Linked DNA regions of Homo sapiens: regions 1 and 3 are each linked to region 2. Evidence: promoter capture Hi-C in human tissues and cell types (Jung and others, 2019). All regions are on one chromosome and are shown on one strand. The core of a region is centred on a gene start or on the middle of the fragment in contact, and the rest is flanking DNA. Distances in the headings are between cores, read along the strand shown.

Region 1 (3,005 bases), core at 219-2,718, 720 kb after region 2:
GAGTCCAGGTTGGTGCCTTAGTTATCTCATTCTCCCTCTCTGTGCTCACCATCCTGGCATCCCTGGGACTCGGAATAATCAGGCTTCTGTTGCTGTATACTCCCGTACTATTTCACTTCCCCACATAGCCTTGTAGTAAACACAGATTACTAGAGACTTCTGCGAGTCTTTCTTTATCACTTGAAAGACCTTCCCTGATGGAATCTTAAAGACAGAGAAGCAAAGAGAAGTAAAGCAGGCACCAGGATGCGTAAATGGCATCCGCCTAGGTGCATTACTTGGTCAGCAGGGCCTGCTCAGGGTCTTGCTGAGCTAAATGTACTTTTCCATCTATTCATTCATTCGACCAATCTAAATTCAGTGTGTACACTGGGCCAGCTGTTGTGCTGAGAATATATGGATGAATACAACAGAGTCTCTTTCTGATGGGATTTACATTTCACAGGAAAGTCCAGTGATGATGGCTGTGCCTACTCTGGAAGGGAAGGAGGGGAGCAGGGGGACCACTGCAGCTGCTGAGGACAGAGCTGTCTCCCACTTCCCCTTTCCCACATCACACTTACTAACTGCTCAGCCTCCTGCTTTTCAGTGGTGTCAGGGCAGTAAATCCCAAGTCCATAAGTAAGAAATGGTCTCAACTGATACCAGGATAAAACAGCTACCAAGCCCGTAACTATCTGATCTGCATGCCTTTCTCACATCCCAACATTCACCACTTTGTTTTTGAATACTGTATACTACAGCTACAGGAAGTTCTTCACGCTGCCCTGGTCTATTTGTGCCTTTTCTATACACTCACGTGTCTCTTCTCATGTCATTTCCTCCATGGGACCATTTCTCTCTAAATCACTGTTTTAGTTCATTTTTACTTGACTCTCTGGAATAAACACTTACTTCAATCATTCCTGCTTCTAAGAATATTCTTGATACACCTATGAAAAATTAGGTGCCCATTACAAGTGGAATTGTGTTTCCCCCAAAAAAGATACTTTGAAATCCTAATGAGAACCTCAGAATGTGACCTTATTAGGAAACTGGGCGATGGCAGGTGTAATTAGTTAAATGATGGTGAAGTTATACTTGAGCGGGGTGGACCCTAATCCAATATGACTGTTGTCCTTATAAGAAGGCGACTATGAGCCGGGTGTGGTGGCTCATGCCTGTAATCCCAGCACTTTGGGAGGGCGAGACAGGCAGATCACAAGGTCAGGAGTTTGAAACCAGCCTGACCAAAATGGTGAAACCACATCTCTACTAAAAATACAAAAATTAGCAGGGTGTGGTAGCGCGGGCCTGTAATCCCAGCTACTCAGGAGGCTGAGGCAGGAGAATCGCTTGAACCCGGGAGGCAGAGGTTGCAGTGAGCTGAGATGGCACCTTTGCACTCCAGCTTGGGCAACAGAGTGAGACTCCATCTTAAAAAAAAAAAAAAGGAGGTGACTATGTGAAGACAAAAACACACACAAAGAACTCCATGTGAAGACAGAGATTTGGAGTATTGCATCTACAGGAGTAGGAATGCCAAAGATTGCCGGCACACCACCAGAATCTAGGAGAAGACAAGGGAGAATTCCCCTATAAGCTTCATGGAATGTGGCCAGCTGATACCTTGATTTCAGGCTGCTACCCTACAATAAACACCACTCAATTTCCAGTACTTTGTTAATGGCAGTGACTGGAAACAAACACAATGCCCCTCCTCTGAGCTCTCATTGCAACTTCTAATTATCTATGCATCTGTCTCTCTTTCTCTAGACTGAGTTCCTGCAGGGGAAAGACTCTCCTTTTCTTCTACCCTGGATCATCTCTAGAGCAGTGCTTGGTAAGGTGCTGAAAACTTGGCACTAAATGATCAAATGAATGAATAAAGAGGCAGAGAAGGTTGCTGAGTATATGGAAGAACATCAGAGATCCAGTCAGAGGTTTTCTTTTGTTTTTAGAAATTCTACTACCAGAAATTTTTCCTTCAATGCTTTGAAATATCAGATTCTTCCTTAAATGCACTTCCAAAGGAAGTAGTCACACAAAAATGGAACAATTATTTGTGGGAGGGATCATTGTAGGCAAATTTGAGAGGAAAGTTGGTGGCAAAAGAAAGGGCCCTAACGGGGGTTGCCCAGACCTTTAAGAGGCAGATCTGCTCTCCCTCAGTTAGGAGGACATGAATTTGGGGTCCAGAAAACTCCAGAAGTAAAACATCCGTCAGCTGTTCAAGGCCATCTCTGGCTACTCCTTTCGTCTTATCCTTTATGCGTGCAGGTCATGAAATTGCTATGACTTTCTTGTCCCTATATCTTTTCTCTCTCTACCCAGAATTCCTATCCTTATTTTATTGGCCTTCTGAACAATTTTTCAAAACCTCACCAAGAATCACCTCGTCATTGATGCCTTTTCTGATTCTTATTGCAAGCCTCTTGTGTTGCCACTGCGCCTTGCACAGATTTCTTGATTTCTGCACATCTACACACATTTAGACCCATCATGAGGTCCTGATCTTTCTGAAGGCAAGAATTATGCCTTTACATGTTTCAATACCCATCTCAGTATGTGGCATATGGCAAGTGAGCAATAAATGTTTGTGGAATCAAGAAATTAAGTAAACCTTGTCTCTAGGGAAATTGTTTTACATCAAACTAAAACCTGGGCTTGGAAAGCTTCCGTACTTTCATACTTAAGTCCTTATGGATGAACCATAACCGAACTTAGTAGGTAGGCAGGGTGGAAATCTAACTGAGGAGTATACTTCTGTAACAAAAGCTGAGTCTCAGCCAATCCCAGTAGCCATACTCCAGCCATTCACAGGCTGTTGTTTAAACCATGTTTAAGTAAGGCAAAATGCCAAGCTGTAACCAGCCTAGCTATTTCCGTACATCACTTCCGTTTTATGTAAATCACTTTCCTTTTTTGGTCCATAAACTCACTCTGACCGCCAGGCATCCCTGGAGCCTCTCTGAATCTGCTGTGATTCTGGGGGCTGCCCAATTCATGAATCTTTTTTTTTCTTG
Region 2 (2,588 bases), core at 89-2,588:
AGAGGGTGGGAGGCAGAGGAGAGGGTGGTAAGCTGTAATGAAGGAGGGTGCTCTCCCTCCTGCTGAAGTGACAGCTGGACTTGGAAGGGTGAAGGGAGGTGGGCAGATGGCATCAAGTTGTAAATGCCAGGGAAGTTAACGTGGGGAAGGGGAAATCTGGCTGCTTCTCTAACCACGGCAGCTGTTCCTCCCTTGCCCAGTGCTAGGACTCAGAGTTGACTCAAGTTGCTCTACAAAGAGCTGGGAGGGGCGGGGTAGGATAGGGGAATTAGTGGAACATCCCACCCCTTCAACAGCTATTTGAGGGCCAGACTGGCCAGTGCCTAAACTTGGGCGGGGTGGGGAAGGAGGAAACTGATGTTGATAAGAGGTCCATACCCCACATTGAGGTGATCCACCAAAGCTTCTGTCAGGCAGGTCGCTGCAGTGATAGCCTCTCGCCTCCTCTTTTCTGGGGAGAGGGGGAAAAGGAATTGGAGGGGAGACTTGGTTTTTTGAGGGGTAGTGTTAAAGGTTCCCTACCCATCCATTACTATTCTGCTAGTTGCCGAAATTTCTTAACTAATCTCTGAATGCCGGAGCTGAAAAGGACCTTGCAAAACATAGCGCAACCTCTTTCATTTTAGAGATGAGGAAACTGGTACCCTGGGAGGGAAATGGACTCACTCAGGGACGCCAGGAAGTCAGCGGCAGCGCCCAGGACTCCTGACTCCCAGGCACTCTTTCTCCACTACTCGGCCGCAGAATCGGTAACTCCGAGATTTCCAGCCCGGACTCAGGAAACAAGTGCCCCACCTCCGTTCCGGTGGTTTCAGGCCTCCAAGAAGCCCATCTCTGGGGGGTTCCCCACACCCTCCTCCCTCCAGAGTCGCTCCTTCCCGCCGCCAGGACGAGAGGCTCCCAGGGCCAATAGGCAGGGCGCTCCGGGGCAGGGGCGGGGCTAAGGTGCGGCAGGTCGGGGATTGGGGGCGTTGCCGAGGGGACCGGAGTATTGCCCAAGGGACCGGAGCCAGTTGGCAAGGGAAAGGAGTTTCAAAAAAAGCCTCTCTGAAATTCCCTCTCCCCCATGCCCGTTGCCCGCTAGCTGGCGTCTTTCCCTGGATATGGTTAGTTACTCGAGATCCAGGCTCCGGGCTGAAGCTAGGCCGCGGCCGAAGAGAAAACGGCCGACAGGATATTTGGCTCACCCTGCAGCTCCTTGCGTTCATTCTGCTTGGCCTGGTGTTCTTTTAGGAGGCGGGACAGCATGGTCACGTCGGGCTGGGGGCTGGGTACGCCGGGCCCCCTCCGGCTCCGGAAGCTGGAACGCTCACCTCGGCTCCCCGGGGCCATGTCACGTGACCGCTGTGTCACGTGAGGTTGGGAACCGCCCTCTTGAGACCTTGGGTGAAGATCTTGGCGGGGAAGAGAGGTAGAGGGTTGCGGAGGGCAGGTGAAGTGTTCTTTATTGGGAGCTTAGTTTTTGGTGAGTGTTGGAAGAAGTATTTTCTAATACTTATATTGCCAAGCCAGTTTTTAACATTTCCTGTGGATCTCAGGCTTCGAGGGCTGGTGGTGTCAGGCCGTCTATCACCGTTTAATTGAGGGAGCAGAAGCTCCCTGGCCTCATTTAAATTATTCTCCTTCCCTCTCCTCACCTCCTGGCAGTGCTAGCTGGTTCTCAGTTGATTCCCAGTTCCTTCCCTCAAGGAGAGGATGCTTTCCTGTCTCTCCCAACCCTCTTTCTTCTCACTACCCCACTGAAGTCTCTCAGCTCTGGGTGATCATTGTAGAGAAGCATTTTAGGCACTTCAGACAGCCTCCTAGGGAGCTTGGCTAACTTGGCGGGCTGTGTGAATGTAGAATTTCATCTCTGTCCTTTTGTGGTCAGGAATGCGAACCCATTTCAGTGTTAGCAGAAGCGTAAGTGCTGTGCCAAAGTAAAAAGTAATTTATATAAGGCCTCTGTGAACTAAAAAGAAATGCTTCCGGGATTAACTCCAGCGAGAACAATTATAAACATCATGAGCATATTCTTGCTACTGGTACAATCTCTCTCGGTGCACCTTGCACTAACATGTTGGGTGACTTTGGGCAAGTTGCTCACCATTCTAGGTTATAGTTTTCTCTTTAGTAAAACTAGGAGAAGGGATTGGATTAAATCGGTGGTTCTCAACCCTGGCTAAGCATTAGAATCTAAACATTAGAATCACAGAAATCACAAGGCTTATAAAAATGCCGTGATTAGCCGGGTGCGGTGGCTCACGCCCGTAATCCCAGCACTTTGGGAGGCCGAGGCGGGCGGATCACGAGGTCAGGAGTTCGAGACCAGGCTGACCAACATGGTGAAACCTTGTATCTACTAAAAATACAAAATTTAGCCAGGCGTAGTGGCACAAGCCTGTAATCCCAGCTACTCAGGAGCCTGAGGCAGGAGAATCGCTTGAACCTGGGAGGCAGAGGTTGCAGTGAGCCGAGATCACGCCACTGAACTCCAGCCTGGGCGACAGAGTGGGACTCTGTCTCAAAAAAAAAAAAAAAAAAGCCTTGATTCCAGACTAATTAAATAGAATCTAAGGAGTGAAGACCAAACATCACTATATATATGT
Region 3 (3,421 bases), core at 244-2,743, 970 kb before region 2:
GTCTCGCTCTCCCGAGTAGCTGGGACTAGAGGCGTGTGCCACCACACCCGGCTGATTTTTTTTTATTTTTAGTAGAGACGGGGTTTCACCATGTTAGCCAGGATGGGCTCAATCTCCTGACCTCGTGATCTGCCCGCCTCTGCCTCCCGAAGTGCTGGGATTACAGGCGTGAGCCACCGCGCCCGGCCCCTTCCCTTTTTTTTTTTTTTTTTGACACAGGGTCTCACTCTGTCGCCCAAGTTGGAGTGCTCACTGCAACCTCCGCCTCCCGGGTTCGGGGTTCGAGCTATCCTCCCGCCTCATACTAGCTAGTATTTGGCATTACAGGCAAGTGCCACCACGCCCTGCTAATTAGTATTTTTAGTAGAGATGGGGTTTCACCATGTTGGGTGGGCTGGTCCTGAACTCCTGACCTCAGGTGATCCGCCCACCGAACTTCCCAAAGTACTGGGATTATAGGCGTGAGCCACGGGCGCCCCGCCCAATTTCCCTTTTTAATGGCATTTGAGCTAGGGTCCAGGTTTCGTAGCTCCCACTACCTGTCCTGCACAACACAGACACTAAATACCTTAGTGCTTATTATGAAGCCCCGTTCTTCAGAAAGGTTTTATAGCACTTTCGTTAAACCTCCTTCCTGTTCAAAATGCAGCGCACTAGAGTATTTTTCCCCAATCCACCGTTAAGCGGCTTCTTCTTAAGCAGGACTGTTTTGGGTCTCTTGGTTGCTACCCCTACTACACCCTACTAATATGTTGCACAAAGCGACGGGGAACCCCTTCTCCCCCAAACGATGTGCGTGGAAACACACAATGTCCTACTCTCTCCATTCCCAGAAACCTAGACTCTCCCCTCAAATACCTTTCCTGGCTCATCTACAGCACTAAGGTCTCAAGGTAGGGGCAAAAGCCCGCCCCAATTGGCAAATGCTCCTCCTCCGCCAAGAACCTCGAATTTCCGCTGTCCCTGGACAGAGCCTCCAACCTTCAGAAAAATGGCGAGGTGGACCCAGGCCCTTGATTCTGAAGTGAGCCCTTTTCCACAGCACAGGCTTTTTACAGGTTTTTGTGGTGGAATGATGACTCAGTGAGCTGATTTACTCCCTCAAGAGTAACCAACGCGCCATTTCAGTTCTCCAGGATCCCGACTCCGTGTCCCTCCGCCTCAGCCTTGCCTCCCACTGTCAACGCAACCGTTTCTCAGAGAAATCGCCGAAGGCGCATGGCAGGGCAGTTGGGCCACTAACGGTTTTCTAACGCGAGAAGACAGAGCGGGAGGAGAGGCGGGAACGCGTAGGGACTAGCAGGGGGCGGAGTGGGGGTGGGGTGGCGGACGAAGGGCGGGGCCGGCGCCAGGAAGGATCGCGAAGGAGCTGGGAGGCCCCGCCCTTTCCGTAGATATCTCTAGAAAGCCGCGCCGGAGCCCAAAAACAAGGACTGCGCACGCGCGGCGGCAAGGCCCGGGCATTTTGCTGCGTCACCAGCCGCCGCCCGGCCTCACCACCCCTCGTTTGCACGCACGCACGTTCATTCTCCGTCCTCGCGCCCCTTTTCCTACACTTTCCTCTTCTCCCCGACCGGAGGAGCCGCTCTTTCCGCGCGGTGCATTCTGGGGCCCGAGGTCGAGCCCGCCGCTGCCGCCGTCGCCTGAGGGAAGCGAGAAGAGGCCGCGACCGGAGAGAAAAAGCGGAGTCGCCACCGGAGAGAAGTCGACTCCCTAGCAGCAGCCGCCGCCAGAGAGGCCCGCCCACCAGTTCGCCCGTCCCCCTGCCCCGTTCACAATGTGAGTGCGACACCCCGCCGAGGGAAGGTCGCCGAGTGAGGCCGAGGCCGCGTTGGGGGCTCCCTGGAAGCGGCCCCCTAGCCTTTCTCGCATCGGTGGTGGCAGTCGTTCCTGCCTGGGGGCGGGAGGTCCAGGATCCTTGTTCCGGTTACCGTTGGCGGGTGGAGGACATTTTTCCTCCAGATGTCTGCTTCCCCCACCCCTGAACCGTTCCTTGGCTTCCCCATGCCGGAAATCCTACTTTTACCCCTTTGGCTGTCTGGGTTACTCGCCTCTTTCGGTAACTTCACCCTAGGCCTTAAGCTCCCGGTAGCTGCTCGCCATGCGGCGCCCTGAAGCGTGAACCTTCGTGGGTCGCCTCTCGGCTGCTTGGGCGCTCCGGTTCTGTTGCTTTGTGGTCCCGGGGCCAGGCCCTGAGTCGAGTGCACCTGTGGTGGGTGCCGCCAGGTGCCTGGCGGAGCTCCTGGGAGAGCCCCACGCGGACCTCGCCGTGAGCTGCAGGTACTGCTAGGCAACTAGAAGGAAGCCATGCCCACGCCGCAACATACTTCCCTCTCCAGTGTCTGGGTTTCTTGAGTGTGGGTACTTCCAGTCCGCCTCCTAACTCCAGTCTCTTGAAAACACGGGAGGTTGCCAAAACTCAGCCGCTTCCCTGGCAGCGAGGAGGAGTTACCATTGAGCAGGTAGTTCCGCACGTGTCGACTTTGGAAAGATACGGACATTTTCTGTGTTTCATGTTCTACTTGAGGTGAGGTTTCACTATCTTGTTACAGTGTAGGATGAAATAGGTATGTAGTAGGCATTTAATTAACCTACAGTCGTCCCAAAGATCTTAAATTTGTGTGGAGGTGAATACAGATTCTATGGCAGTCTTCATTTTACGATGATAAAGGAAAGCCTTGGCGATTTTAACCGGTAAGAATTCTTGGCACTGCCGCGTACAGTGGGAACTGCCGGTTTTACAGGGTTTTTTTTTTTTTTTTTTTTTTTTTGACGGGAGGTTATTTTTCAAGGTACTAACTACGTCCTAAAAGGTATGGAGAACAATTAAGGTGGAACCTTTTTTTTCTTTTGTTTTAGACTCCATTCAGAAGAGAGAAGAGGGGAGTGACTTTATGTCTTTGGAAAAGTAATAAGGATTTGCTTGATTCAAGTCATGATACTGAGGCTGAGTATATTGGCTAGAAATCTAAAGGGATGCGTGAGGCTGAAGCGAGTTTATCACTGGGAACAAGCTTCTAGAGCACAGCATGTTAGAATTTTTGAAGGAGCCCCCTCCCCGAAAGTGATACGTAATCGGGGTTTTAAAAAATTTGAATTAGGCTGGGCGCGGTGGCTCACAACTGTGATCCCAGCACTCTGAGAGGCCGAGGCGGGCGGATCACCTGAGGTCGGGAGTTCGAGACCAGACTGACCAACATGGAGAAACCGCGTCGCTGCAAAAATACAAAAAAAATTAGCCGGGCGTGGTGGCACATGCCTGTAATCCCAGCTACTCGGGAGGCTGAGGTTAGGAGAATCGCTTGAATCTGGGAGGTGGAGGTTGCGGTGAGCCGAGATCATGCCATTGCACTCCAGCCTGGGCAACAAGAGTGAAAACCCGTCTCAAAATAAATAAATAAATTTGAATGTATATAAAATA

Evidence for each region. The method cuts DNA at HindIII sites, captures the fragments that hold promoters and counts their contacts. A contact is called where the count stands out against the background at its distance.
Region 1: a contact is called between a fragment that was not itself captured here and the fragment with the promoter of BLOC1S1 in region 2, in 1 of the 25 tissues and cell types used here (H1 embryonic stem cells).
Region 3: the fragment with the promoter of PTGES3 here is called in contact with the fragment with the promoter of BLOC1S1 in region 2 in 1 of the 25 tissues and cell types used here (neural progenitor cells).

Annotation. Positions count from the first base shown.
Region 1 is chr12:54,999,159-55,002,163 of GRCh38, reverse strand. All of the region lies in intron 1 of LOC107984515 (a long non-coding RNA gene), which reads right to left. Among named protein-coding and RNA genes, the nearest start is that of TESPA1, 16 kb to the right of the region's middle. RefSeq lists an enhancer at 490-679 and a silencer at 780-829. The HindIII fragment of the contact is 4,658 bases long and covers 1-3,005 here.
Region 2 is chr12:55,714,796-55,717,383 of GRCh38, reverse strand. BLOC1S1 (biogenesis of lysosomal organelles complex 1 subunit 1) reads right to left here and starts at 1,338. Exons shown (of 4, transcript NM_001487.4): 1 at 1,188-1,338; 2 at 379-451. The coding sequence starts at 1,332. BLOC1S1-RDH5 (BLOC1S1-RDH5 readthrough) reads right to left here and starts at 1,350. Exons shown (of 6, transcript NR_037658.1): 1 at 1,188-1,350; 2 at 379-451. It also overlaps a transcript of ITGA7 not described here. RefSeq lists enhancers at 634-873, 1,154-1,293. The HindIII fragment of the contact is 9,126 bases long and covers 1-2,588 here.
Region 3 is chr12:56,686,356-56,689,776 of GRCh38, reverse strand. PTGES3 (prostaglandin E synthase 3) reads left to right here and starts at 1,493. Exons shown (of 8, transcript NM_006601.7): 1 at 1,493-1,779. The coding sequence starts at 1,778. RefSeq lists enhancers at 1-30, 557-606, 1,083-1,608, 2,107-2,226, 2,337-2,386 and a silencer at 1,257-1,446. The HindIII fragment of the contact is 15,862 bases long and covers 1-3,421 here.